Regions from separate parts of the Homo sapiens genome. Here all the other regions are linked to region 1. Evidence: promoter capture Hi-C in 16 types of primary human blood cells and fetal thymus (Javierre and others, 2016). All regions are on one chromosome and are shown on one strand. Each heading gives the region's core, a stretch centred on a gene start or on the middle of the fragment in contact. The rest is flanking DNA. Distances are from core to core; before and after follow the strand shown. Region 1 holds the start of BPGM (bisphosphoglycerate mutase). Region 2 has its middle 8.9 kb from the start of TMEM140. Region 3 overlaps AGBL3 (AGBL carboxypeptidase 3). Region 4 overlaps CALD1 (caldesmon 1).

What was found. Contacts are between HindIII fragments. The CHiCAGO score rates a contact against its expected background, and 5 or more counts as called.
Region 2: a fragment that was not itself captured here is called in contact with the fragment with the promoter of BPGM in region 1 in 8 of 17 cell types (total CD4 T cells, naive CD8 T cells, activated CD4 T cells and 5 more); the score reaches 9.6 in total CD4 T cells.
Region 3: a contact is called between a fragment that was not itself captured here and the fragment with the promoter of BPGM in region 1, in 3 of 17 cell types (total CD8 T cells, naive CD4 T cells and naive CD8 T cells). The highest score is 7.2, in total CD8 T cells.
Region 4: a fragment that was not itself captured here is called in contact with the fragment with the promoter of BPGM in region 1 in 1 of 17 cell types (naive CD4 T cells); the score reaches 5.9 in naive CD4 T cells.

What each region holds. Positions count from the first base shown.
Region 1 is chr7:134,643,502-134,649,588 of GRCh38, forward strand. It overlaps BPGM (bisphosphoglycerate mutase), which reads left to right and starts at 3,352. Exons shown (of 3, transcript NM_001724.5): 1 at 3,352-3,436. The region is part of intron 1 of LOC124901750 (a long non-coding RNA gene); the gene reads right to left. RefSeq lists enhancers at 3,329-3,478, 3,579-3,688. The HindIII fragment of the contact is 1,395 bases long and covers 2,678-4,072 here.
Region 2 is chr7:135,136,171-135,142,257 of GRCh38, forward strand. It overlaps a transcript of CYREN not described here. Among named protein-coding and RNA genes, the nearest start is that of TMEM140, 8.9 kb to the right of the region's middle. The HindIII fragment of the contact is 8,610 bases long and covers 1-6,087 here.
Region 3 is chr7:134,999,136-135,005,222 of GRCh38, forward strand. The region is part of intron 4 of AGBL3 (AGBL carboxypeptidase 3); the gene reads left to right. Among named protein-coding and RNA genes, the nearest start is that of AGBL3, 16 kb to the left of the region's middle. The HindIII fragment of the contact is 470 bases long and covers 2,169-2,638 here.
Region 4 is chr7:134,913,572-134,919,658 of GRCh38, forward strand. All of the region lies in intron 3 of CALD1 (caldesmon 1), which reads left to right. Among named protein-coding and RNA genes, the nearest start is that of AGBL3, 70 kb to the right of the region's middle. The HindIII fragment of the contact is 3,962 bases long and covers 479-4,440 here.

The DNA.
Region 1 (6,087 bases), core at 2,102-4,601:
TAAAATGCTTTACATTTATCATTACCATAATTGTTAAGAATAACAACTACCATTTATGAGATGCTTTCCATGTGGCAGGCACACATCACATTATCCCACTTAATTTTCACATTAGCGATTTGGGTATTATCTCTGTTTAACAGATAAAGACACTGAGGCTGAGGTCAAGCAATTTGCCTAGGCTATTCTGCATTTTGCTAGCCTAGCAAAACCATTGGCTCCTTCCTTCCAGCAAACTCTAGAGTTAGCTATGATTGTGAGGCTTCCCCAGCCACATGGAACTGTAAGTCCAATTAAGCCCCTGAGTTCCCAGTGCTGGAAAGTGACAGACACAAGGTGCTTCAAAGATTGCAAAGCTATTCCAAAACTGCCTCCATGATTCTTCACCCTACTCTGTGAGGAAGATGAGGATTCTAAGTTTTAACTTCTGAAAGAAAGGGACAGACTTTAAGGTCCCTTCTGAGAGGTCTGGATGGCTGACCCATAACAGCATTTCCAGTTTTTAGTTTCAGAAAAGGGAGTCTTGTACTTAGGAGGTCAATGATGGGGGCCACGCATAGGTCTATTATACTAGGTTACGAGTGGTAAATTTTAATCTGACCCTGAAGTAAGTAGGGTACAGTTGGAGACTAAACACTGGCAGCAAATAACCAACTCATGGTGTGTCCTGATACTGTGAAGAAAAGGAGACACTCCTGTACATGGCATATAGAACTAGCTAACTCTGGAGTTTGCTGGAAGGAGGGAGCCAATGGTTCTGCTAGGCTAGCAAAAGGGAGAATAGCCTAGGTCCGTGGATGATGTTTTGATGCACGGTGGACCAATTCAGCCATACGTGGAAAAGGCTAGAGGCTCTGTGCACATAACTGTGAAATTATTTTGACCAGGTATGTATGCTATCAATAAAATAGTGGTTTATTCAGGTCACAAGGAAGACAATTTTCAACTAAAACTCAAAGTATCACATGGGTTAATACTGACTTTTTGATATACACCTGTAACAGAAAGGAAGACAAAGAGACAACATAGCTATAATAATTTATTGCTTTTCATTTCTTGTTTGGATAAAAGTGAGACTACATCAAAAGCTGTTTGATGACACTGAATTATTTTCATAGTATCTATATCACTTGCTGTATCAGAACTGAAGTCCTCATGACTGGTCTTCAATGGAAGTGAATCCTAAAATTAATCTTAATTTAAAAAATACATTGCTTTTGGGGTGAGGAGGAGAAGGCAGCAGGAAGAGGAAGCATCTTCCCAGAATTATATGAATTAGCAACCTTGGGTCCTAGCCCAGGATTTGTCCCCAACCAAGTAATTCTGAGCACATCACTTAAGCTTCAGTTTCTTTATCTGTACAACAAGGAGCTAGAGTTTAATTTCCAAAGCCCTGTCAAGTACTAAGTTTGTACAAGTCTAATATTCTTTGGAGTTCATCTTTGCCTTAAATGGATTTATGATCATCTTTGTGAACCACGACCTCGTTATTTAAAAATTCATAAGAGAGACAGCTCATCGAATAGACCAGGACACAGGGTTCAGGATATGATACTGTAACATAATTAAGTATGGAGAACAATCTTGCCATAGGGCAAAAGTAACTCCTGAAATTCTGTTAGCCTCTGTGCACATTTGTCTTACAAACATGCTTGCTCCTGATGAAAATCTGCTTTTTAATTCCTTCTAGACAGAATCACTGATATAAGCTTCCATCTTATATCAAAATGACTCATTCATAAGCCACATACTCTTGCGAATGATTCTAAAAGGCAAGTGATGTTTGATATTAAGGTTTTATGTGACAAGCTAGCATTCCATGGGTGTCCATAACAACAGTAAACTTAAATCCAATGAGTAGGCGCCCTTAAGTCCAGACTAAGTAGCCCTAAATGCCAAATGCCACAAGACTGTCACTTGGTAATGACTGTCATTAGCCTCCGGAGTATGGATGGTGGGCACTCTGAATAGGAGCTTTATTACACTGTAGAAGAAAAGCTTTCTCCTTACTTTGTCCTCAACTGATATTGAGAAAAAAGCAAGAGGGCAAATGTATAAGATTTGGAAGCTGCCCCTTCCAGCTGTTCTGGCCTGAACTCTAGTTAATCTTGTGCAAGTTAAATTCTAACTATCACTAGGTGAGACCTATCACCTGCTGGGACCTGTCAAGCCTCGGATTAGTGCCGTCCCGGAAGTAAAGTTCTGTTGATATCCCAGGAGGAACTGTCATGCTCTAACATGGATAAATGAGATACAGAACTGGCTACGATTAGGTCTTAATGAGTTCAATAAAGAGTGTGTCACAGAATTTCAAATGTGGAAAGATTATCTTTTCAACTGTATGTATAATTTATTCTGAGGACTTGCTTGCGTGTCACAAACCTAATGCATTTGTTAGGAGGATGAAACAGGAAAAACTCACAGGAGGACACGAAACACTACTTAGGATAGCTTCTAAGAAGGGAATCTCCCATAACATTCCTTATCTTTCCCGCCCACCCAAGAGTTCTGACACATATGCTTCAAAACCTCGTGTGGTAGTTCAAGCCTGCTTAGAAGCTTTTAAGGCCTCGTGCCAGGTTTCCGGTGTTTTCATAGATTTCTCTTGTTCAGTTATTGTCGCCTCCAAATTTGTCATTCTCTCATTCCACTCTAGCCTCCCTTCCTCTGTGCAATAAGCTTTTAGGGCATTCCATTAATCACTTTTCTTCCCCACCTAAAATACTGTCAGCAAACTGCCTAGGGGAATCCCTATAAAAGCGGTAAGAGAAAGTAAGGTTGCGTTACTGCCTATAAATTGGGCACTTTAAAGGCATTTGTTTTAATCACGACTTAAGACTTTCAACCACGAGTAATTTGTGCGAAAGGAGCTTCTTCTGGGAGGATACCTCGGCTTCGTCTTCAGGTTTCAATCCCTAAATTTCCCATAAGTAAAAGAAACATCACCTCCTCTCTTCCAAGAGTCCGCTGACACCTGTCTTCACCCGCAGGTGTTTCTTTTAAGACGTTAAACGCTTTCTAGAACCTCAAACAGCTAAGATGCTCCCCGCACCCGAGGTTTTGCACCAGCGACGCTCTAGGGTGTGTTTTTCTACTTCCCTAGGCCCAAGCCTGCCCGCTGGCGTCGAAGCCAACTCCTTACTGGTTCAGGTATGTGCTCGTCTCTAGAGTAAACCAATCAGAGCCCCACTTCTTACTCCTGGGATTTGGTAAACGGAAGAGACCTCTCCTGTTCCGGGAGTAGGCCGGGACCGTGGATGAGTGACAGTTCGACTTTCCAATAGGCAGAGCCCTAGGACCTGCCCACGTCTGGTTCAGGGGCTAGAAAAGAGCGTCGATGCCGGCGGCAGTGATGAGTCCTAGGAGGCGCTGGCTCTTTGGCGGCTCGGAGGAGCGGCTGCTGCTGCTGCTGCTGCTGCTGGTGGCCCCTTTGCAGGTGAGTGGCTTTGTTTTAGAAAATGTTGCGAACGTTTACATTTTTTAGTGATGTGATGTTTTATTTTTGGGTGCGGGGAAGGCCAGTTTCTTTACTTCCCCCGGTTTAGTCGTTGGTGGGAGTCTGGTGCCCACTCCAGCCCTCAAGCTGGGACCCTCACTTATCGCCCCGGTCCCTTTCCCTTGTCCCTATCTCAGAATGAGCCTCGCAGGCAGTCACCGTTCTGTCAACTGAGAGGAGGAGCCCGCTTTGGTAGTGCTGTCCTTATGGCAAGAATATATAGAAGTTGGAGGGAAGATAAACTCTCTTCTGGATGTCTGAGGTACTGTGTAGCAGAGCCCTTCCAATAGTAAGATCCCCTGGAAGGAAGCAGGGCGATGCCGCTGTATTTAGGGTTCTGGCAGACCTGGCCCTATCTATCATTTTGTGTAGTAGACAGAAAAACTCGAATGCGGTGAAAAGAGAAGGAGGTGAATATATGCAGTGTTTTCATGTAGGAATCTGGAGCCAAATCACAAGTTCTTAGAACCACTAGAAATAAAAACGTAAGTGTATTTTCCTCTTTTCTAAGGGACGAGCTGGTATTACACTAGAGAAGGTCAATGAAATGCATAATTGCAGTTAAGTTCACAGTTAAGCTTTAAAGAATAGTTGGTTGTTAGCTAACTTATAACTCTCATCCCCCTACTGCCTCCCTTGCAAATTACGGAAGATCTTTAGCTTGTGAGTGGTACTAGAATGTTAGCTGACTAAATGCAGACTCTTTCCAAGAAGGGGAAAAATCAAAAGCTAAGTTTCACCTGTAGGTACTAAAGGTTTTTTAATAGTGAAAGCAGAACTCATGTCAATTTGTCTTTTATTTTTTATTTTTTTTGAAACGGAGTCTCGCTCTGTCGCCCAGGCTGGAGCGACTGCAGTGGCTCGATCTCGGTTCACTGCAACCTCCGCCTACCGGGTTCAAGTGATTCTCCTGCCTCAGCCTCCCAAGTAGCTGGGATTACAAGCATAGGCCACCACGCCTGGCTGATTTTTGTATTTTTAGTAGAGACGGGGTTTCACCATGTTGGCCAGGGTGGTCTTGAACTCCTGACCTCAGGTGATCTGCCTGCCTCGGCCTCCCAAAGTGCTGGGATTACAGGCGTGAGCCACCGTGCCTGGCCTTGTCTTTTTTCTTTCTTTCTTTCTTTTGTTTTGGTTTTTTTTTTGTTTTGTTTTCAGACGGAGTTTCGCTTCTGTTGCCCAGGCTGGAGTGCAATGGCGCGATATTGGCTCACCGCAACCTCCGCCTCCTGGATTCAATCGATTCTCCTGCCTCAGCCTCCCGAGTAGCTGGGATTACAGGCATGCGCCCCCACGCCCAGCTAATTTTGTGTTTTTAGTAGAGACAGGATTTCACCATGTTGGCCAGGCTGGTCTCGAATTCCTGACCTCAGGTGATCTGCCTGCCTCGGCCTCCCAAAGTGCTGGGATTACAGGTGTGAGCTACCGCGCCCGGCCTTCTTTTTTTTTGAACTGCCTCCCGTGAGTCCAGGGAATAGCTCTTTCTTAGCCATCTTTGTATTCCAGTAGCACCTCATACACCGCAGATGCTCCCCAGTTGGTGGTGGACTTCAGAGAAGCATAATTCAAACAGTGTCATAGTGGAAGGAGCTCTGAGTTAGAAATCAAGAACATTGGCTTTAGTCCTGAAACTGTTACTATTTGTGTGATCTTAAACAAATCATTTCAACTGTGACTCTTAATTTTTGCATTTTTTTTTTGAGACAGGGTCTCGCTCTGTTGCCCAGGCTGGAGGGCAGTGGCGCAATCTCTGCTCACTGCAACCTCCACCTCTGCCTCCTGGGCTCAAGCGATCCTACCATCTCGATTTTTGCATCTTTAGAAAGCAGATGTTGCATTAAATTATATCTGAGATATAAACTCTGTATTTAAAGTCTGTTTTAAAGTAAAAATTATTAGTATACAAGCAGAATCTCATTGCAGTAAATTCTGTACCATCTATTAGCAAGTAAAAGTTCCCAGCTTCAAGGATATATTCTTGTTTTTTAATTTTTAATTTTTGTGGGTACCTAGTAGGTGTATATATTTATGGGTTACATGAGATATTTTGACATAGGCATGCAATGCATAATCACATCAGAGTACATAGGGTAGCTGTCACCAAAAGCATTTATCCTTTATGTTTCAAACAATCCAATTGTACTCTTTTAGTTATTTGAAAATTTACAATTAAATTGTTTTTTTTTTTACTATAGTCACCCTGTTGTGCTAGCAAATACTAGGTCTTATTGATCTTCCTATTTTTGTCCCCATTACAAGGATATACTCTTTTGTGTTCCTATTTAAACCAAACCAGATTATTGTAGAAAATTTGGAGCATACCGAAGTATAATGTGGCAGAAAAATGTCACTTAGAAGCAACTACTGTTAGTGTTTGGGTAGAGCTTTTAGTCTTTCTTCCTCTTTTGCCTGCTGTGGTTGGTTGAGATTAAGAGGCACATTTTAAGTAATGATTGATGCACCTAAATTCACCTGGCCTTCATCTTTGTGTGTCTGGGGCCTGAAGAACAGAGGTCACAAACGTGTTTGAACCGAATGGTTTCTTGAAACATCCTTGGAATGAAATCTGATATGAAAGATGTTTATATGGG
Region 2 (6,087 bases), core at 1,976-4,475, 490 kb after region 1:
ATTAGAGGATGAGGCTAAGCATAAGAAGGGTCAGGTAGGAGAGGTACATTAAAAATACAGGCCACAGCCTAATTACAGCTGGGTGGAACTATGAAGATCTGGGGTTGAGTGGTCTACTCTCAACAGTATTTCTAGTAGCTAAAGAGTTTCCAAGGAGAGCCCACTGCACTGTTAAAAGAGTAACTATTATGTTTTAAAGGACCATGACCATAGATTTCCTCAGGAATCTTTAATGTCTGGTGGGAAATAGCTATCTTCTAAATACATTAGATGGTGCTTTGAAGGCAAGTATCCTGGTTCTCAAAGAGTACCCCAACTTTTGGTATAAAATTCTCATCCTTAGTGATTATCTTGGGCAAGAGCAGAAGTCTACTTGCTTTTGGGATGCCCTCTGCCAGGTAGGTGCTCGGGCTTGGGAAAGCCAGAGGTTAATGTTCCGGATCATAGCATTTATTGTAGCTGACTTCAGGATGGAGTAAGAGTTCTCAAAATTCCATTGGCCCTTCTCCACAAAGATCAGGACAAAAGCCTAAACTCTGGGAAAATATTTTTAATTCAGTGAAATGTCATTTGAATCTTCGACTGCCTAAGAGTTTGAAATTGTAAACTCTGGAATGTATTGTCTTTGTGGATGACCAAAAAAGGTGATAAACCAGTTTCCTGGAAGATTTAGGGATGCACAGATATTACCTAAACAATTTTACCTTGGTCCATAATTGCACTCCTTGTATTTGATACAAATATAAGATGCTTTACCCAAAGTAAGAGGATTGGCAGTCCACTTCCTCACTATGCTACAATACTTTCAGTTTTCTGAGCATGCCACTCTCTCATAAAAGCTATTTATTCTCTCAGCCCAGCATCTCCTCCACCTGGCAGCCCCTACTTCTTTAAGATTCAACTCAACTGCTGCCTTCTCTGGCAAACCTTCCATATATTTCCATAGAAATTTAAAACAACTACGATGAATATGCTGACAGTTCTAATGGGAAAATTGGACAATGCAAGAACAGATGGGTAATATAAGCAGAGAGATGGGAACTAAGAAACAAAAAAAAAATGCTAGAAATCAAAAACACTGTAACAGAATGAATGATGATGGACTACCCAACAGGTAAGACACAACTGAGGAAAGAGTCAGTATGCTTAAAACAATGTCAATAGAAACTAGCAAAACTTAAATGCAGAGCAAAAAAGAATGAAAAATTCAGAATATCCAAAAACTGCAGGACAATTTTAAAAGGTATGTAACGTGTAATGGGACTACTGGAAGTAAAGGAAAAAAAGGAACACAAGAAATATTGAAGCAGTAATGACGGAGAATTTCTCAAAATGAACGACACCAAACCACAGATCCAGAAAGCTCACAGAATACCAGGAATGATAAATACCAAAAAAATCAAAGACCAAGAAAAAATCTTGAAAAAAACACCTTATGTATAGATAAGCAGGGATAAGAATTACATCAGACATCTCTTCAGAAACCATGCAAGAAAGAAGAGAGTGGAGTGAAACATTTAAAGGGTTTAAAGAACCACTGTCTCAGCTCAGGCTGCTGTAACAAAATACCATAAACTAGGCTGCTTAATGAAACAATAGAAATTTATCTCAGTTCTGAGGCTGGGAAGTCCAAGATCAAGATGTCAACAGATCCAGTGTCCAGTGAGGGCAGTCATCTTGGTTTGCAGGTGGCCTTCTTGTTGTATCCTCGCATGGTAGGGAGAGATCATCCCACGTCTCTTCTTATGATCACTAATCTCATTCATGAGGGCTTCACCCTCATGACCTAATTACCACCCAAAGGTCCTGTCTTCTAATACGATCACACTAGGGGTTAGGATTGCAACATATGAAATTTGGGGGATGCAACATCAGACCATAACAACCGCTGACTACAGTTCTGTATCCAGTGAAATTGTCCTCCAAAAGTGAAAGAGAAATGGACTTTTTCAGACAAACAAAAATTGTGGGAATTTGTCATCTCTAGAGCTGCTCTTTTTTTTAATGTTAAAAGAAATTCTTTAGAAAGGATGAAAATTATACAGGTCAGAAATTCTGGCCTACGTAAACAAAGGGAAAGCAATAGAAAAGGAATAAATGAAGGTAAAATAAAATCTTTTATTTTTCTTAATTACCTAACAGATAATAGTTTGTTCAAAACAATAACAGTGTATTCAGAAATTATAGCTTATTGATAAGTGAAATGAATAGCAGCAATGTTGTAAGGAATCGGAGGGAGGAATTGGGAATACCCTGTTACAAAATACTTGTACTACCAAAGAAGCAAGTGGTATAGGGTTATTTGAGAAAGGATTGGATTCATTGTAAATGTATCCTGTAAATTCAAGGGTAAAAAAGAGGTAGAATTGATATACTAAAATAGGAAAAAAATCAAATCATACAAAATATTCAATTAAAATAGAAGGAGGTAGAAAACAAGTGGAAGACAAAATAATAAAGGTTTGTTACATGGGTAAATTGCATGTTGTGGGCATTTGGTGTACAGATTATTTCATCATTCATGTAATAAGCATAATACACAATAGGTAGATTTTCGATCCTCACCCTCCTCCCACCCTTCACCCTCAAGTAGGCCCTAGTGTCTATTGTTCCCTTCATTGTGTCCATGTGTACCTAATGTTTAGTTCCCACTTATAAGTGAGAACTTGTGGCATTTGGTTTTCTGTTCCTGCATTAATTTGCTTAGGATAATGACCTCCAGCTTCACCCATGTTGCTGTAAAGGACACTATTTCATTCTTTTATATGGCTGCATAGTATTCTATGGTATATGTGTACCACATTTTCTTTATTCAGTCCACCATTGATGGTCATCTAGGTTAATTCTATGTCTTTGCTACTGTGAATAGTGCTACAGTGAACATACACATGCATGTGTCTTTATGGTAGAACAATTTATATTCCTTTGGATATATACTGCATAATGGGATTGCTGGGTCAGATGATAGTTGTGTTTTAAGTTCTTTGATAAATCCCCAAACCACTTTCCAAAGTGACTGAACTAATGTACATTCCTGCCAACAGTGTGTAAGCATTCCCTTTCCTCTGCAACCTCACTAGTTTTTTTTTACTTTAACAATAGCCATTCTGACTGTTGTGAGATGGTATCTCATTGTGATTTTGATTTGCATTTATCTAATCATTAGTGATGTTGAGAATTTTTTCATATGCTTGTTGGCCATGTGTATGTCTTCTCTTGAGAAGTGTCTATTCGTGTCCTTTGCCCTTTTTTTTTTAATGAGGTTGTTTTTTGCTTGTTACGTTTTTTATAGATTCTTAATATTTGACCTTTCTTAGATGCATAGTTTACAAATATTTTCTCCCCTTCTATAGGCTGTTTACTGTGCTCAAAGTTTCTTCTGCTGTGCAGAAGCTCTTTAGTTTAATTAGGTCCCACTTGTAATTTTTGTTTTTGTTGCAATTGCTTTTGTAGTCTTTAACGTGAAATATTTGCCAGGGCCTATGTCCAAAATGGTATTTTCCAGGTTTTCTTCTATGCTTTTTATAGTTTTAGGTTTTACATTTAAGTCTTTAATCCATCTTGAGTTGATTTTTGTATATGGTGAAAGGAAGGGGTCCAATTTCAATTTTCTGCATATGACTAGCCAGTTATTCCAGCACCATTTATTGAATAGGGTGCTCTTTCCCCATTGCTTGTTATTGTTGACTTTGTCAAAGATCAGATGGTTGTAGGGTACAACATTATATATGGGTTCTTTAACCTGTTTCATTAGTCTGTTTTTGTACCAGTACCATGTTGTTTTGGTTACATAGCCTTGTAGTATAGTTTGAAGTCAAGCAGTGTGATGCTTCCAGCTTTGTTCTTTTTGCTTAGGATTGCTTTGGCAATTCAGGCTCTTTTTTGGATCCACATGAATTTTAGAATAGTTTTTTTTTTCTAATTCTGTAAAAAATATTGTAGTTTGATAAAGAATACATTGAATCTGTACATTGTTTTGGGCAGTAAGTCCATTTTAACAATATCGATTCTTCCTATCCATGAGCATGGAATGTTTTTCCATTTATTTGTGTCATTTCTTATTTTTTTCAGCAGTGCTTTGTAATTCTCATTGTAGACATCTTTCACGTCCCTGGTTAGTTGTATTCGTAGGTATTTTTATCTACTTGTGGTTATTATGAATGGGATTGCATTCCTGATTTGGTTCTCAGCTTGGACATTATTGGTGTATAAGAATGCTATTGATTTTTGTACATTGATTTTGTATCCTGAAACTTTGCTGAAGTTGCTTAGCAGATCTAGGAGCCTTTGGGCAGAGACTATGGGGTTTTCTAGGTATAGAGTCATATAATCTGCAGAGAGATAGTTTGACTTCATCTCTTTTTATTTGGACGCCTTTTATTTCTTTCTCTTGCCTAGTTGCTCTGGCTAGGACTCCCAATACTATGTTGAGTAGCAGTGGTGCAAGTGGACATCCTTGTTTTGTGCCCATTTTCAAAGGGAATGCTTCCAGCTTTTGCCCATTTAGTATGCTGTTGGCTGTAGGTTTATCATAGGTGGCTCTTATTATTTTGAGGTATGTTGCCTTGATCCCTAGTTTGTTGAGAGTTTTTAACATGAAGGGATGCTGAATTTTATCAAAAGCCTTTTCTGCATCTATTAAGATGATCAATAGATGCAGGAAAGATTGTTTATAGTTCTGTTTATGTGATGAATCACATTTATTGATTTGCATATGTTGAACCAACCTTCCATCCACCTTGAACATGGTGGATTAGCTTTTTGATGTGCTGCCGGATTCGGTTTGCTAGTATTTTGTTGAGGATTTTTTCCTCTATGTTCATCAAGGATATTGACCTGAAGTTTTCTTTTTTTCATTGTGCCTCTGCCAGGTTTTGGTATCAGGCTGATGCTGACCTTATAGACTGAGTTAGAGAGGAGTCCCCACTCCTTGATTTTTTGGGATAGTTTCAGTAGGTTTGCTACCTGTTTTTCTTTGTATGTCTGGTAGAATTCAGCCATGAATCTGTATGGTCCAGGGCCTTTTCTGGTTGGTAGGTTTTTATTACTGATTCAATTTCAGAACTTGTTATAGTATGTTCAGGATTTCAATTTCTTCCTGGTTCAATCTTGGGAGGTGGTATGTTTCTAGGAATTTATCCATTTCTTCTAGGTTTTCTAGTTTGTATGCATACAGTCATTCATAATTGTCTCTGAGGGTTTCTTATACTTTTGTGGGGTCAGTGGTAATGTCCCCTTTGTTATTTCTGATTGTGTTTATTTGGATCTTCTCTGTTTCTTCATTAGTCTAGCTAGTGGTCTATCAATTCTATTTATTCTTTCAAAAAACCAACTTTTGGTTTTGTTGATCTTTCGTATGTTTTTTTGTGTCTCAGTTTCATTCAGTTCAGCTCTGATTGTGCTTATTTATTTTCTTCTTCTAGCTTTGGGGTCGGTTCACTCCTGTTTTTCTAGTTCTTCTAGGTGTGGTGTTAGATTGTAAATGTGAGATCTTTCTTTTGGATGTTGGCATTTAGTGCTACAAACTTTACCCTCAATCCTGCTTTAGCTGTGTCCCAGACATTCTCATATGTTGTATATTTGTTTTCATTAGTTTCAAAGAATTTCTTGATTTCTGCCTTAATTTCATTGTTTACCCATAAGTAATTCAGGAGCAAATTGTTTAATTTCTATGTAATTGTATGGTTTAGAGAAATCTTGGTGTTGATTTCTACTTTTATTGTGCTTTATTCTGAAAGAGTGGTTGGTATGATTTCATTTTTTCTTTAATTTCTGAGAATTGCTTTATGGCCAAGCATGCGGTTGATCTTAGAGTATGTGCCATATGCAAATGAGAAGAATGTATATTCTGTTGTTGTTGGGTGGGGTGTTCTGTAGATGTCTGTTAGGTCCATTTGGTCAAGTGTCAAGTTTAGTTCCAGAATATCTTTGTTAGTTTTCTGCCTCAGTGATATGTCTAATACTGTAATGTGTCATGACAGTAAAAGAAAAAGTTGAATTGCTTGATATGCACCATAGATTGAGATCTGCAGCTGCATTTGCCCACTATTTCAGACAATTTATTTCATAAACAGATAATGTAAACTT
Region 3 (6,087 bases), core at 1,154-3,653, 350 kb after region 1:
TGTTTCTTGGTCTGAAGAAATATAACTTGATGGTCCAAATTGCCACAGTATCTTCTGTTTCAGTCCTTTTACAGTATTCTAAGCATTTTGTATCCATCTACCTCTGGGGGTGCAAAGCCTAGTCCAGAGTAAATGTCTAGTCCTGTCAGGACCCTTTTATAGTCTCTGGGGGCTACCACAGCATTCCGATGTAGTTACTTGTCAGTTGTGTGTGCCACCTGCTCCCCAGGAAATCTGCCCATAGCCACCTGCGGTCTCCGTCTCTCTTGAAGCATTTATTTGTATTTTGTGCCTCAGAGGGAGTAAGAGAAATATGCCAACAATCAGCCCATGCCTACATTCCTACACCTCTCCCATTTCCATTTATTTCATGGACCCACATGCCCACCTCAAGTAAACACACCAAGTTTTCCACTTACTGGGTCCAGTCATCATCTGATCCTGGAAGAGTGTTCTTCTGGTGGGCACTGACATGTCCTACTTTAATGTGCCCCTAAATTCCATGGTGATTTCCATAGGATGGTGCCCCACATGGGGCATCTAATAGACTAGTTTTTCATCACCCATCTATTTGACCATATGGCCAGCCATTGGCACACCCAAACTTTGATTATTTTTAAATGGAACTTTTATACTTGTTCAGTTTTTTCATCACTGCAAGGACAGCATATAGTTCAGCCTGAGCAGATTGTTCTTACCTTCCTCAATCAGAACTTTTCCATCATCTGATGTAGTACAGTAGTCTTCCAAACAGGATGTTGATTATCCACCTTGGAACTGCCATCAGTCAACCTAGTAGCTCTCTTTCAATAGAGAGCTGTTCATAGGGCACAGCCCAGGTGGCCATAGGATTTGGTGGCTCCTCAGCTGATTTCAAAGTAGGCTCCAGTGGAAAAGAGACCTCCTGCACATGAACAGAATGAGTATCTCCTTGCACTGTCCCAGTAACATTGTCCTGTATAAACCGTTTCCATTTATTATGGAGCCCTTCTGGGCACTGCCTTATTAGAGTGTTTCTTTCACATCACTTAAGGCATTGTGGGCATTTCAGCTTTCACGGTTATATGTCCTTCAGTATAATGGTTAATTTTATGTGTCAGCTTGACTGGGCCACGGGATGCCCAGATAGCTGGTAAAACATTATTTCTGGATGTGCCTCTGAGGGTGTTTCTGGAATAGATTAGCATTTGAATTGGTAGATTCAGTAAAGAAGATCCACCATCACCAATATAAGGAGGTGGGGCATCATCCAATCTATTGAGGGCCTGCTTGAATAGAACAAAAGGATGGAGGAAGGGTGAGAGCTCTCTTCTTGAACTGGGATATTCATCATCTGCCCCAGACATCAGAGCTTCTAGTTCTCAGGCTTTTGGACTTGGACTGGATTACACCACCAGCTTTCCGAGTACTACAGCTTGCACACAGCAGATTGTGAGACTTCTCAGTCTCCATAATTTGTGACAATGTATATACGCATATGTGTATATTCACTGATATAATAAATACACACACACTACTGGTTCTATTTTTTCTGAAGAACCCTGACTAATACATTCAGTCACAGGGGCATTTTCAACTAATGTCCAATAGCAAGTTAGTAATTGGTTCTCAAATGCTGTATATCTTACAGCTGCATCCGAACAATTTCTGGTCCAAATTCCGGCAGTCACTGCTGGATGGTGCTCACAGGCTTTTTCCATAAGCCCCAATCTCTGGCCCATACAGGGCTACTGTAGAGAAAATGTGTCGGTGCCAGCAGCCCAGTTTCTAACACGTCATTGATTAAAGGTGTACTCTATTTTTGTGCACCAGGTATTCTATACTATTTCCAACTAAAATCTGTCGGCTTGGACAATTCTATAGGTTCCCATTTAGCCAGTATACTGGATAAAGGGCAAATTTACATGCCTTCAGTTTTACAATATTAGGTAGGGAAGTGTTCCCCAATCAGATATAAAATCCATCCCAATACATTCAGGTAAAGGAGATACATCCAGTTCACATGAAGTCCATTTAAATATTTCCGTTTTAATCTCAACTTTCACCTTAATTTCATCAACCATTTCATGGCTAAGTCCTCCCAACCTAACTGTAGTCCACATTAGGATATCACCAACAGATTTTGGAACCTCAGTGCATTGGTCTGCCATGTCAAAGAGTCCCAGAAAAGCTTGTTCTCCACCCCCTTTCCATTTTAACCACACGTGCATATAGCCCATGTCCCCAAACAAGGATCAGACTAAAGGACCCTGACCCTTTTCATCAGTCTATCCATATTAGTTTGTGAGACAATTGCCACAGATGATTTGAGGTAACATTTTTTATTGTCCTTTTTGCCTTTCAGCTTTGTTAATTCCTCCAGACTAAGGTAAATAGAACAGATTTGTTTAAAGCTCTTCAAAGTCGGGGTATGCCAGGAGCTCCCATTGGTCTATGTAATCTCCAATAGTGTTTCATTAAGACCTTTGATCCCATCAGTGTCCAACCTGCTGGGATGAGTCCCTTGATTCTTCCTTTTGTCTTTCCCTATTCTTTCATGACTCATGTTATTTTAGCTCTCAGTTTTTTCAGCATGTTATTTGTCCCTTTGTTGGAAACCCTGAAGCTAGTGTCTGTAGCTTGGACCAGCTGAAATTCAAGCTTGGCCCAGTGTCAGGATTTGCCTCAACACTTTACTGTAATTTTAGCTATTACACATAATAACTGAGAGATTGTATGTTTAGCTTGTTTCTTGTCATTTTGCATTTCCTTATGCATCCAGTGAGCCAACTCTTTGGGAGTTAGATTTATCATTTCTAAATTCCAGTGGTGACTTTTACTTCTAGTAACTGATTGCAACACAGCTGCTACTTCACACCATGGGTGGCCCAGTGGCCAAACAGAATCAAAGGTTTGTCAACTCCTACCCTCTTACCCTTCCTTTTCCCAAACCACTCTTTCACCACATTTCAGTGAGTCAGGGTAATTCTAGTGAATCCCACTTCTGATGTCACCTGTGATCAGGAGTCCTGAAGACCACCCCAAGGTTCAATGATTCATTAAAAGGACTCGAGAAATTCAGAAAAACCATGACATTAATGGTTATGGCTTGTTACAGTGAAATGATACAGACTAAAATCAGCTGAATTAATTTAGGGCAGAGTCCAGGAGAGACTAGATGGGGGCTTCCAGTTGTCCTCTCCTGGTGGAGTTTTATAGACAGCACTTACTTCCTCCAGTCATGATGTGAGATAACACTCATGAAGTACTGCTAATCAGGGAAGCTCATCCAGCCTCGGTGTCCAGAGTTTCTATTAGGGACCAGTTATGTCTGTATGGAATGCCCACGTGGCTGGCTTTAGTTATTCAGTCCCCCGCCTCTCCATCCAAAATTAATATAATGTGGCCCAGAGCCCCCCACCACAACTCACATTATTAGCATAAACTATCTGATGTAGCCCAAGGCCCCAAGTAGACAAAGAAACTCTGAACAGGCAGAATATTTCAGGGTCTTAGAGGTTATCTCCCAGGAGTTGGACAAGGTCCAAATCTTTCTTTGGATATACAGGGTTTGGACAACCTAGGCCATCTGAGTGCTGCACAATGAGAGTACCTATTTTCCCATACTCTCATCAATACTGTTAATCACTCATTCTGGTTTTTGACAATCTGATATTGTTTACTTGATATGTGTTTTTTGTTCATGTATTCTTTATGGATGAGATTGGAACATTTTATCTACTGACTTTATATAAGCTACCTGATGAAATCCTTTGCCCATTTTGCTATTGATTAGACTTTTTTTCTTCTCGATCTCTAAGTGCTTTCTGCCTATGCAGGAGATTTGATTACTGTGTCTTATATGTTACATGCTATTTTTCTCAGTTTTTCATTTGCCTTTTTGTCTTTGTCATGCATAAATTTGTAATTTTTATGTAGTTACTTTGTCTATCATTTTTAAATGATTTCTGGGGTTTTGAAATTTTCATACTTCTTAGTAGTGTCCAAGTGTATTTTTTGTGATTAAATTTTTGATCCATCAGGAATCCATTTTGATATAAGAAGTAAACTTCCAATCCAGTCCTATTATTAAATGCCTGGTGAGTTGTTCCAACAAAATTTATTAAATGAATTATCTTTTTCTACCCACTTACAATGCCACATTTATGATATACTAAGCTTTTAGGTCCAATTTTGAATTCTGTTCCATTAATCTGTCTTTTGATATGCCAGCATGAAACTCTATTACTATAGCTTTTAAAGTATAATTCTGTTGTGTGATAAACTTAGTTCCTTACTGTTTTACTGTGTTCAAGATTTTTCTGGCTACGTTTGCCTTATTATGTCTCTATATGGAATCTAAAATAAGCTTTCCTAGTTGTCCTAAAATAAATAAACTGGTAACTTTATTGTGATCACATTAATTTATAGATTAACTTAAGGAAGAGTAACATACTTTTAAAATTGCACCTTCCTGTCCAATAATAAGATTTGTTTCACCATTTATCCTAGTTTTCCTTTATCTCCTTTATTATAGTTTTAATTTTTTTTTTTCTGCACCGTTTCTAAGTTTATTGTTAGGTATTTTATTTTGTTGCTAAAACTAAATATTTTTGTTGTGAGAATAGCAATTTCAAATAGAATATTTACTATTTTATATTTTCTAACTTGTTTACATACAGGAAAGTTATTTTTGTGTGTATTACTTTTGAAAATTGCCATACTTTGTTTCTAATATTTAAATTATTATATATGTTCCAATTATACAGTTATCCTGTATTAATGTAATTATATCTCCTAATTTTCAGTTTTTATACCTTATATTTCTTTTTTGTACTAAATGCATTTACTGGTACTGTCAAAAAATATTTAATAATGTTGCCTTTATCTTATTCTTCATTTTAATGGGACTAGTATTACTGTTTTCTCATTAAGCAAATTATTGGCTTCTGGTTTAAAATAAATTTTTTTGATTCTGCTAAGGAGTTACCAATTTGTTCTTATATTATTAAGAAAACTTTACCAGAAATTATTACTAAACTTTATTAAATGCCTTTTTAACATCTATGGGGTAGAGGGATTATGATATTCTTCTCATTTGACCTATTATGTTGGTGAGTTATATTAGTTTTTTAATATTGAACCAGTTGTATAGTATTGAAATAAAGTGCAGTTAGTCATTGTGGATAATTTTTAGTGGGTTGCTGAATCCTGTTTTCTCATTTTATGCAGGATTTTTGCTTTAATATTCATAAATAAGATAGATTTTTAAAAATTTTCTAGCTCATGTACATTTATCAGGTTTTGGTATAAACGTTATTTAGAATTCTTTGCTTTAGAGCAGTTTCAATAATGTTTTAATTAATGTTCTTTATAATTTCGAGAGAAATCTTCTAAAACTGTGCATATTTTGTTACTGTTTTAGAGAGACAGAGAATATTGTTATTATAAAACTTCTCAGTTTCTTCTTTGTTACATCTAAGTTTCCTATATATTCTGTTCCAGGGACAGTTTTGGTTATTTTCCTAGAAAAATGCTTTTCATGCAGGATTTTAAAATTCATTTAATAAATTTAAGCAAAGCATTCTCCTATAATTGCTAAAATTTCCTTTAAAGATAGGAGATTTTTTTCCTTTGTCCTAATACTTTACATTGTGTTTTTGCATTCTTATTTTTCTCCCCTGAGTATGTTGGTAGGCTTTATCTTGTTAATTTTTTCAAAGAATCAGTGCTTGAAATTATTTATTAGTTCTAGTTTTGTGCTGTATTCTAATAATATAAATTTTTTTTATAAATCGGATTTATTTAGATTTATTTTGTTCTTTATTTAACCTCTTGCTCTGTATTAACTTCTTACTTCCCAGTATTTTATTAAGAATGTTTTCAAATATGCAGAGAAATTGAAAGGATCGTACAGGAACCCATATGGCCATCAACTAGATTCTTACAATCAATAATTTACTATATTGCTTTATCACATATGTAGCCATCTATCCATCCCTCTCTTTATCCAATTAAGTCCTTTTAGTTTTTTATTCATTTAAAAGTAAGTTGCAGATATCCTTACATTTCACCTGTAAATACTTTAGCATTTATATTGTTACCTAG
Region 4 (6,087 bases), core at 1,210-3,709, 270 kb after region 1:
ACATAAATGTATATATCAGTGTTATTGGTGCATGCTTAATTTTTAAAATTGATTGTAGTATAGTATGAAAAGTCATTTAGAAACCATTGGCTTAGATCATGGATCACCAAACTTTTTTGTAAATGGTCAGATAGTATATATTTTCAAATTTGTGAGCCATACAGTTTCTGTCATAATAATTGAGCTCTGGCACTGAAGTGCAAAACAGCCATAGATGATAGAGGTGTGGTTGTATTCCTATAAAACTTTATTTGCAAAAACAGAGTGGGCTGGCTTTGGCCTGCAGGTCATAGTTTGCCAATCCCTGGCTCAGATGACTGAAGCTCTTTGTTAGTCTCCAGGGCACCCTAAGAAAGCTTCCTATTGTAGAAAGAAAACAGGTATAGGAACTTGAAGACCTGGGTCAATCCTGATTTTGTAATTACTTTTATGAGTCATTTCACCTCTTAGATCCCAGGTTACCAAGTATAAAATATAAAGCTTGAATTCGAAATAATGTCAAAATTCCTTCTAGTTTCATTAATCTATCATCTTAGATGCTCACTACCTTGCCACAAGCAGTGGATTTCAGCTGGGCTCTGAATGGAAGCAGAATAAGTGAAAATCCAATTTAATACGAGGTGGGCAAAGTGAGTTCAAAACAGTGGAGAAGGTGACAAGAATAAAAAAGGACAGAAATTCCATTCTGAAAAATGTAAAGTCACAGCTTATGGCTCTTGAGGGGTCCTCCATGGTGCTGCTGTTCTAAATGATTGTAGGACTTGCTCAACTGAAGTCTCCTCTTGCAGCTAAGATGGATGGGATCCTTGATATGGGGTAGCTGGCCCTAATTTCTTTTATTTCTTGGGGAAAGCTGCAGAGTGAAATGAAACACCTGGAGTGGAGATTGAAACTAGAAAATGTGTGCTGCCCTTCCGGGACTCCCTTCCACAGGGCCATAGCCTTTGGAAAGAGCCTTATACTTCGTTAAATGATTGGTCTGCTCTTCTCAGTTCTTCGAAGCCATCTTTCTGTATGTACCAAGCACGATTGGCGCCTCACTAATGCCCTTCATGCCTTCCAAGCCCTAGCCAGATGGAATTGTGTGCTTTTCCATAACCATATTTCCCGATTCTGCAACCTTGCTATTTGAGCTTTCTGTACATGGAAAGGTCCTCTTTCATTCCCCCAGCTCCCAATGCTAGCCATCCCAAAAGAGCCAGCTTGAATACCACTTTCTTTATGAAGCCTCCTCTGATCCCTTAGCTGGAATTGCCTTCTTCCTCCTCTAAACTTTAAATCACTTTAAGTCTTCTGTAATATTTACCACATTCTACCTATTATCACATCCTTAACAGGTCTTAACTTCCCTACAGATTATGAACTCCTTTCAGGGGTTGAATTTATCTTGGTTTCTGCCCTCACTGGCTTGAATGGAGTAAATGTTCAATAAATATCTGTTGAATGGATGTGCTAATTCCAGCCACCTGTGTGTCCATTTCCAGGTTATAGCAGCAAGCATTACCTACCAGCATCCCACAACCGCAAGTTCAGACTCCACCTTGGTATCTGGCAGATGGTTCTGAACAATGGTTTGCCACCTCCTCCTCAGAACCTAGGCCCCCATGCCTCCTCCTCGGAACCTAGGCCTTCATGCAGCCCCCTTGCTGCCCAGAGCTCACCACTCTGATGACAGTTCTGAATTGAACTGTCCTTGCCTCCAAGTCTAGGTTCCACGTGGATCAGTCAGGGAGAGGAATGTATACCAGATTAGCAACCCATAAGTCAGTGCCAGTGCTGTCACTTTGTAATTCAGAAATATGAACTTTTTTTTTAAGTCAAGTCAGTGATCTTCACCACTGAAGCAGTTCCTCCTGTATTAGGTAACAAGTTTAAGGAATTAATGATTACATTGGTGATCTAGTCAGAAGACAGCATAAGCCTTATTGGTTAGTAAACTAATCTAACCAATGAATTAGGATGGAATTGCCTTGTTGGGATAGAAATCTGTTCCAGGAGAGACAGGAACCCTCAAGTCATTTAAGTGCTGTAGAATGTCTCTAATGCTCATGCTCCCTCTCTCAGAGTCCTGATTCCCTGAGTCTTAAGCTGTTGGTGATTCTAACTCAATTTGCACACACAAATGTGGGTGCTTAGTTATTTAATATTATTCTATCTGTTAAAACATTCACATTTTTATAGGGGTCTTCTATTAACTCAAAGGGAGTCTTTAAGCATAGAAGATTCTACTTGGTTTGGTTTGGTCAGGCTGGCTTTTTACCAAATCACAACAAATGGGTGTTTGCTTTTCTCCCTCCACATTGAGCAGGCCCTGTGTTAAGCAAGGTTTCCACTGATTTAGGAAGATGATCTATCAAGAGCAGAGAAGACTCCTTGACTTCTTTTCTCAACAGTAGGGAGATGGGACCCATGAGCAGTGGTTGACTGCCAAGTCCCCTGCAAGAATAAATATTCTCTTCAATGGGCAAAGCATCCATGATTTGGCCCTTCATTTCCCATTTCCTGTCTCCACTCAAGGTTTGTCTTTTTACTTTCTGCCACTTGTACACAAAGCTCTCCAATGCTAGCACATGGAGTGGGGGTATGAGCCAACTGGATGTTAGATAGGTGTGTGCAGGACCTCTGGAGTCAGGCAGGTAGGGTTCACCCCATTCTTGTTAGAATGGCAGTGACTTCTTCCCTAGCAGAGCTAGCAACAATGCCCCAGTGTCAGATCTATCATATATTACAGTTTCCTGTCTGAAGAAGAGATGAGGGGTACAAGAGGGAGGAACAAGATGGGAGGCAATGCCACTCGAGTGGAAAGGAGCCCTGGGAAGGAGGAAATGAATAGTAAATCTTTTTCCAATTAAGAAAAATGAGAGTGGAAGCAGAAAAGCTCCAGAGGGCACTTTTAGGGGAGGGAAAGATCATAAAAGGCCTGTTATGAAAATCTATTACCCATAAATTTCCCCACATTAAGCAGAGCCTGTCTAGAGAGGATGCTGAGAATTCACTCAGCTGACACAAGATATGTGACTTGATTTAGTGGCATCCACATGCTGTGTACCGTTTCCATTGGCATGTCTGCAATACCACTTTCCCTTGCAGGGATCCCCTTTAATTACTCGCAGGCTTATAATCTCCATTTAAGGACATCTTGCTTCCATTTTCCAATCGCTTTATGTCTTTTGTCAGATGTTTACCGATGTGATAGTGGTACCATAATTTGAAGCTCAACCACATGAGATTATGGACTTTAGTATTGCATCACATGAACATTTCAGATTTAGGGATGAGTCGAACTTCTAGATCACTCTAAATATAAGACTTATCTAAAAGGAGTTCATATTTTTTACATTTGAAGACGACAGTGGAAATTTCTCTTTCTAGGTGATTGTCTTCAGATACGAAAATAATGTGCTTGTTTATATACCTGTGGTCAAATGTCATTGCATCCAACTTAGCCAGTAGAAATGTGAGAATATCCCTACATCCTGCTCTGGAGCAGGTGTGATTCAGTTGCATATCCAGATCTAGACCTCTATGCAAGAGAAAGAGCTGGAAAAATATAGTGCTGCCAGCCATCGACACCTGGGTCTGAACTGTTTCCTAATGTTTTACTTTTTTTAAACGACTAAGCCCAAGGTTTATTGTCCACATCTACGATGCACATTAAAGCAAAATTGTCCTTTAATAGATAATAGCAGTCAAAGAACAGCTCCAACTCAGATTTTACTTTTGATTGACAACATTTTTTAAAAGCCTAAGTTCACTGAGGATCATATTTATTTAAAAAAAATTTTTATTTTTTTGAGACGGAGTTTTGTTCTTGTTGCCCAGGCCGGAGTGCAATGGCGTGGTCTCAGCTTACTACAACCTCCATTTCCTGGGTTCAAGAGATTCTCCTGCCTCAGCCACTTGAGTACCTGGGATTACAGGTGCGCACCACCACGCCCAGCTAACTTTTTGTATTTTTAGTAGAGACGGAGTTTCACCATGTTGGCCAGGCTGGTCTCGAACTCCTGACCTCAGATGATCCACCCACCTTGGCATCCCAAAGTGCTGGGATTACAGGCATGAGCCAGCACACCAGGCCTATTTAAAATTCTTACTCATTATTTAAGACTGTTATAAACAAAGAATTCTAGGTTGGGGATGAAGAAAAGGTAAAGTTCATGAAAACCCAGGTAGTAACTGGGCTTATCTTTTTTAGCCACATTTATACCAGTTGAATCTTAAATAATGATGGAAAGAGAGGAAGGAGTTTGGTTATTTTATTTTAATTATCTTCCTGGCCACTTAAGCATTCATAACTCCTTTTCATTCATTTCAGCTAAAGTTTAATTCAAGTAACTAAGTCAGGAGCAATAGATATCTTCTCCACCATCAACCCTGTCTTTCCTTACATATTCTTTGTAAACATTTATAAATTAAAAAGTGAATGTTTGTATCTGAGCAAGCTTATTGATTTAATAGGGTGGGGTAGATGGGGTGGTGCAAATTCTGTCCCTGTTTGTGGCAAGATGAATAGATTTTAGTTTATCTTAGGAAACTGTCATGGACTTATCCTTCCAAAATCCATATTTACTGGGGTTGGCAGATGCACTATTTCTTTTAAAAATAAATGTGAGAAAAATAGCAACTCAATAAAAGATAAATCCAGTTTCTATTCATTTTATTTGTACTGAATATCACAAACCATTTCTGGATGTTTTAAAAGAAAATGGCACCAATTGAAAAAGAAGTTAAACATCTATCCCATACAAATTATAATCTCAAGAAATGTTTGGAAAAGCTTGTGCCTCATCTGTTGTTATAAACTACAGCTATTGATATAAACATAGATGAATCTCAAAAACATCATGTCAAATAAAAGAATCACAGAATGCATGCAGTATTGTTATGCATAGTTTATTTAAGGCAACACTGAAAAATATGCTGTTTAGGGATGCATACCATGCTGGTAATACTACAAAGAAAAGCAAGAGAATAATTCAGAGATCTTAAAATTCAGGCTGGTGCTTATTTGGAGGCATATAAAAAGAGATAGGGATGCGATTGAAGAGGAGCACATAAGGATCCCTAACAACTGGTGCTGTTTACATTGGGTAGTAGGCACATGGTTGTGTGTCTGATTGTTCTTTAAAGTAGTCATGTACATGGCTAGGCGTAGTGGCTCACGCCTGTAACCCAGAACTTTGGGAGGCCAAGGCAGGCAGATTGCTTGAGCTCAGGAGTTTGAGACCAGCCTGGGCAACATGGGGAGACCCTGTCTCTGCAAAAAATACAAAAATTAGCCAGATGTGGTGGTGCACACCTGTAGTCCCAGCTACTCAGGGGGCTGAGGTGGGTGGATCACATGAATGAACCCAGGAGGTCGAGGCTGCAGTGAGCCAAGATTGTATGAGTGCACACCAGCTGGGTTACAGAGGAGAACTTGTCTCAATAAGTAAATAAATTAATAATAGTAATAAAACAAAGTAGTCATGTACCATACATTCATTTGTAGGTACAATATAAGTCATGATAAAAGTCTTTTTAGCTTGAAATAATAAACCCAAACAATTAGAATCCATCATTTTAAAATGTCCTGTGAATATGTGCATGGATTCAGAAATGAGCCTGTACGCTTGGGGATCCGCCTGCCCTGGAGCAGGATCATTCTAAAAACTGTCCTTTTATAACTCAGAGTCAGAATCAGAACTCTCAGTACTCCCTGGGTGCCTTCTAACCATACAGGACCCACCAGACCTGATCTATTTGTTGGACAGGATGTTCCAGTCATAATGATGCTAAGAACCAGACTGCTATGGTATGTGTAGACACAAGAAGAGGATTTTATGTCACCATGTACTCTGTTCTGCAGCATATTTCCCCTGTTAGGGTCTGTAATTATAGAAACTCATCCAATTATGGGATGTCACCATTGTATAAAGCAAATGTTGGGCTGGTGGTGACAACTTGTGAGTACATACATAAGAACACTAAAGCTTCCAAGTACACAGTGTTTTATTATTGAGAGCCCAAGTATGGTTGGTATGCAAACTTTAGTGACTCTCAAATATGTCTATGTATGGGGAGATGGGGTGGGAGAATGGGGAATAA